Linked DNA regions of Homo sapiens: region 2 is linked to region 1. The links are contacts of gene promoters, found by promoter capture Hi-C in blood cells and fetal thymus (Javierre and others, 2016). All regions are on one chromosome and are shown on one strand. Each heading gives the region's core, a stretch centred on a gene start or on the middle of the fragment in contact. The rest is flanking DNA. Distances are from core to core; before and after follow the strand shown. Region 1 holds the start of SPTB (spectrin beta, erythrocytic). Region 2 has its middle 49 kb from the start of PLEKHG3.

What was found. Contacts are between HindIII fragments. The CHiCAGO score rates a contact against its expected background, and 5 or more counts as called.
Region 2: a contact is called between a fragment that was not itself captured here and the fragment with the promoter of SPTB in region 1, in 2 of 17 cell types (M0 macrophages and M2 macrophages). The highest score is 5.8, in M0 macrophages.

The regions. Positions count from the first base shown.
Region 1 is chr14:64,878,528-64,881,227 of GRCh38, forward strand. It overlaps SPTB (spectrin beta, erythrocytic), which reads right to left and starts at 1,380. Exons shown (of 36, transcript NM_001355436.2): 1 at 1,265-1,380. It overlaps LOC105370534 (a long non-coding RNA gene), which reads right to left. Exons shown (of 3, transcript XR_943942.3): 3 at 2,354-2,700. RefSeq lists silencers at 1,491-1,660, 1,711-1,850, 1,921-2,000. The HindIII fragment of the contact is 2,561 bases long and covers 596-2,700 here.
Region 2 is chr14:64,654,403-64,657,102 of GRCh38, forward strand. No RefSeq gene overlaps it. Among named protein-coding and RNA genes, the nearest start is that of PLEKHG3, 49 kb to the right of the region's middle. The HindIII fragment of the contact is 2,675 bases long and covers 1-2,658 here.

The DNA.
Region 1 (2,700 bases), core at 130-2,629:
CTAGAATAAAATTCAGAGCCATCTGTGAAGCTAAGGATAGGACAGTGGACAGTTGAGCTGTGCCTAAAAATCTTTGATTTGCAGACTCCTCTCATTAGGGAGCCGCCTGAATCTCTTCCCTTAGAAACTAAAATACGGATCGTGACTACCTCCAGGCAGGGGTTTTGCATGACTGCCTCCTACCTGGAGGTGACAGCCTAGTCTCTCCCCACAGAAATTCTCAGTACAAAAAGGCTGTCACTATATCCCCCCACCCCACCCCCCAATCTGATGCATCTAAAATTTAGATGTACAAAAAACAGTGGCTTCTTTTCATTTTCCTTACTCCTGGCTGGCGCCTCTAATTGCTCACTGAAAACAGTGGTTTGGATATTAATAGGCTGTAACTCAAGGCCCTACCTGAAGCTCGTTGTCAGGGAAACAGCACTCCAGCCCCGCAGCTGCTTCCCCAGCCTGGGAAGTACGGATGAGTTGGTGGGAGTTGGGGATTGTTTTACAGCTTCTGTTATTTCTCCCACTTTCTGCTATTTCTCAAGACCAAGTTAGAGGAAGAGGGGAAACTGGAGAGGAGGGTGAGGGTAGAGTAGCCCGGAGAAGCTTAGAGGAAGAGAGGAACTCTTTGGGAGAGGAAGACTAGGGGTCCTTGAAGTATGGCTTGGGGCACTAGGATCTTTCCTCCCTCGGTCTACACGGGGTCACTCTCTGGGTGGCTCCCAGCACCCGGAGGCCCGGCCCCCTCTGCTGCCCTCACCTGTCCCTCCTGCCTGGGCGCTGGGTGGCCCGAGGAGAGCGCAGCCAAGTTCCCCAGAAGAGGGATATGAGCGGCCACAAGGCTGAGAAGCCGGACAAAAAAAGGCAGAGAGCAGCGCTGCGGTCGGACGGGCTAGAGGCGCAATCCCCTTCGCTCCCAGGCCGGGGTCCTGGAGAAGGCGGACGAGAACACGCACCCCCGTCACCCTCTCCCTGCGCCCCGGGGTGACGGACTCTCCGGGATCCCGCTCTCCAAAGCTAGCACCAAGTGCCTCGGACGCCCGCGCGCGTTCCCGCGTCCCGGGATGATCTTTGCCGCAGCTGCCGGGCTTCCCGGGCCCCGCACCCCTCCCACCCCACGCCCGACAACCGGGGCTGGACTCCCACCCGGTCCTCTGGGCCCTGCGCGTCAGGCGCCCCCTGGGCCCAGCGCTCCTTTGAGCTGGCGCCGCGCGTCCCAGCCTTGCGCACCCGCACCCAGCTCCCTTGGCCGCCGGGCCCTCCTGGGACTCACCTGCCCTGGGACTGAAGCGGGGGCCACCCCGAGCCCGGGGGTGGCGGCGGCGGCGGCGCAGGGGGAGGAGGGCAGCGCGGGGCTCCTGGCACAGCGGCCGCCGGGCGCCTGGTGCTGCCGAGCCGCGGACCCGCCCAGAGATATAAATAACATTATCTGAGGAGGGACATTCCTGCCGGGGGACATCGCTGCTGCCGGGACCAGATAGTCCCGCGGCGGGGGCGGGGAGGCGGGGCCGCAGCCTCCCGCAGCGCCAAGCCCAGCCCCCGCCTTCCCCACCCACTCACGCACCTGCCAATCAGCCTCCGCGCCTGGGGGCACCTGCCGGGCCTCAGCCCGGCTCCTGGAACCCGCCTCTGCCTCCCCGCCCGCCGCTGAGCCTGGGGCGCCTCCATCGTCGTTCATTGCCCCTAACCCCGCGCCACCCCGAGCCCCCTGAGGCGGGAAGGGGGTTGGACTCTAGCTCGGGCCTAATTCGTGCGCCCGGAGAGGCAAGCCTGGTGGCGAAAATGAGCCCTCCAGCCTTTCCCGCCCTGCATCCCCACTGCACACAGTTCAGTTTTTAAAATATATGAAAAGACATTTAGGCCATAGGGTGGGCGCGGCGGGTACCCGGGAGGTGAACCCCCGCCGTGGCGGGTTTGGGAGGGACAGATTGTTCCCGGGGGCTGGTGCATTAGAAAGCGCGCTCCCGGGCGGGCTTCTCTCGGCTGGCGGTGGGAGGGCAGGGGGCGGGCACTGGGCCCGAGGGCCCCACCCCCAGCCCGAGCTCAGTGTCGCTGTTTCTGCCCGAAAACCTAGTGTAATCAGGACGAACCAGGCAAAGCTGGCGGCGCGCAGCCTGCAGTCCCAAGGAGCTCGCACATTGTAGGGACTGTAATCAACAGGCAGGCTGCCACACCTGCCCACTGGCACCTCCTGGCCGGCCCGGGTCTCCGGGCGAGTGGGGGTGCCTCACTACAAGCCTGGATGAGGCGCGGCGCAGCAGGCCAGAGGAAATACTAGAACCGATGGTGCCAAAAAGGCATCTCCGAGTTGCCCCCGGAGAGAAACTCAATAGAACACCGGCAGCTTGCAAGGCAGTACATTTTCTTGACTTTCTAACGATCAAGGTCATTGTTCAGTAAGGTTTACGTGTACGCCTTGAGGTAGCTTTCATCTCTTTTCTCCACCTGCGGTGCCTGGGATGATTTCTCACCAGCTATCAACGCAGGTAATCTCAGGTATTATGGAAATGGCCGTGGAGATTAAAAGCGCATAGATGCAGAAGAAGTTTTAACTTTTACTGATGCTGCCTGGTGTTCTTAACAAGGGAACAGTCTTACTCCTGAGTTATTTGCTTGGGATTATAATTGTGCTGTTTTCCAGAATTCACCCAGGAAAGGGGTGTTTGCCAGATGTTCGAGTTTAGTTTATATATTGAACATATGCAAAGA
Region 2 (2,700 bases), core at 71-2,570, 220 kb before region 1:
GCTAGAAAGACATTGAGGAAGTCCTGGAAACCACCAGTGTGTTTTTAGGTGACTCATGGAGGCAAGAGAGCAAGTTGCAATGTCTCCGAGGGTAGTTGGTTTAGGAAAGGATGAAATATGTCAGAAAAATCTATGTACATAAATAAAACCAAGCAGCTGTGTTCACATTAAGATCCAAACGGAAACCCAGCTGAAGTAGGAGCCGTTGGATCTGTCCCACCAACCTGTTGTGAGCATGAGCTAGGTAAATATTTGGCTGATACAAGGTCCATCACAGGTTAATAGCTCTGGTCATTACCAAGCCTGGTTATGCTGGAATTGCATGTAGTCTCAACTGGACACTCATGTTTAAGCACAATTTAAAAAATCACCAAGGGAAACCAGGAAGCAACACTTCTATTTGGGAAGTCAACTAATGGAAAGTTTTCTAAAATAAGTAACACAGCTTCAGCTTCAGCAATGGGATTTGTGACATCCCTCCCGTGTCACAGTTAATGTCTACCTTGTTTAATACCACATAATAGTACTTTTAGCCTTCAGAACCTTGAAACTGCATAACTACTGGAACAGTTTAAAAAGAATGAGAACATAATGATTTCATACAGCCCATACGTTTCCCAAATAAGTAAAGGGAAGCTGACTTACGGCAATGAGAGGCGGTGTGGTAACCCGGAGAAACTAGGCTGTCGGTGGGACACATGGGTGTGAATCAGCTCTGCTACTTACATGCTCTGTGTGTCTCCGCAGGACACTTAACCTCTTTGAGCCTTACTTTCGTCATCTGGAAATCAAGAGGGTTGCCCTAGATAATTCTAAGGACCGGCCCAGCTGAAGGTTTGTGAGTGCATGAGAAGCCTGCGGTGGGTAAGGTTATGGTGTCAGCTTCCACGTGGTCTGCGTATACAGTGAAGCCCACGTGCCCTGCTCCATTTGGAGAGGCAGCTTGGCCAAGGTGTAGAATTGGAATCATCTGCATTGGAAGCTGCCTTTTGAAAGTGCTAGCAGTGTGCCCCAAGCGCTTGTTTTCTGATGGAGCTGATCTGCCCTGCCCAAGCACTAACTGGGAAGCTCTTACCCTTATTTTCCCTTTGCCCCAATTCCTTTAACTTTTTTTTTTTCTTTTTTTTGAGATAGAGTCTTGCTCTGTTGCCCAGGCTGGAGTGCAGTGGCATGATCTCGGCTCACTGCAAGCTCCGCCTCCCAGGTTCACACCATTCTCCTGCCTCAGCTTCCTGAGTAGCTGGGACTACAGGCGCCCGCCACCACGCCCGGCTAATTTTTTGTATTTTTAGTAGAGACGGGGTTTCACCGTGTTAGCCAGGATGGTCTTGATCTCCTGACGTCGTGATCTGCTCGCCTCGGCCTCCCAAAGTGATGGGATTACGGGCTTGAGCCACCGCGCCCGGCCCCTTTAACTCTTTATCTCTTTTTATGGTGTGTATTTTTCTAAGCACCTCAAAAAGATTTCATAAGATATGAAATAAAGTGAGAGTATAAAGCTATTCTTTTTTTTAATCCTCCAAAGTGAGTTGTTTTTGTAGGCTAATCATAGAACTATTGTATGACCTGGCAATCCCACTTCTTGGTATATACCCAAGAGAACTGAAAGCAGGGACCTGAACAGATATTTGTACACAATGTTCATAGCAGCATTATTCACAATAGCCAAAAGGCAGAAACCACCCAAATGTCCCTCAACAGATGAATAAACAAAATGTGCTATATTCATACAATGAAATAGTATTCAGCCATAAAAAAGAAATGCAATATTGATATATGCTAAAATATTGATAGACATTGAAAACATTATGCTTAGTGAAATAATCCAGACAAAGAAAAACAAATATTATATGATTCCCACTTATATCAGGTACCCAGAATAGGCCAATTCGTAAGGCAGAAAATAAGATAGAAGGCCGGGTGCTGTGGCTTACACCTGTAATCCCAACACTTTGGGAGGCCGAGGCAGGTGGATAACTTGAGGTCAGGAGTTCCAGACCAGCCTGGCCAATATGGTGAAACCCTATCTCTACAAAAAATACAAAAAATTAGCTGTGCATGGTGGCACGTGCCTGTAATCACAGCTACTTGGGAGGCTGAGGCAGGAGAATTGCTTGAACCCAGGAGGTGGAGGTTGTAGTGAGCTGAGATCGTGCCATTGCACTCCAGCATGGGCAACAAGAACAAAATCCCGTCTCAAAAAAAAAAAGAAAAGAAAAGAAAAAAGGAAAAGAAAAGAAAAGAAGATAGAAAGTGGGACGTGGTGGCTCATCCCTGTAATCCCAGCACCTTGGGAGACCGAGGCAGGCAGATGGCTTGAGCCCAGGAATTTGAGACCAGCCTGGGCAACATGGCGAAACCCTGTCTCTACAAAAATACAAAAAATTAGGCAGACGTAGTGGCGTCTGCTTGTAGAAAAAAAAATAGAATAGAGGTTACCATGGGCTGGAGGAAGGGCCAAAAGAGAAGTTATTATTTAATGGGTACAGAATTTTTGTTAAAAATAATGAAAAAGGTTTTGGTATACATAGTGGTGATGGTTATACAACATTGTGAATGTATTTAATGCCATTGAATTGTGAAGGTTAAAATGATAAATATTATGTATGTTACCACAATAAAACATTTAAGTAGGCTGTTTTTTGTGCTTCTGTCGAAAGCTTTTGTGTGTGTGTGTAAATTGGCTCTCTGTAATGTGAA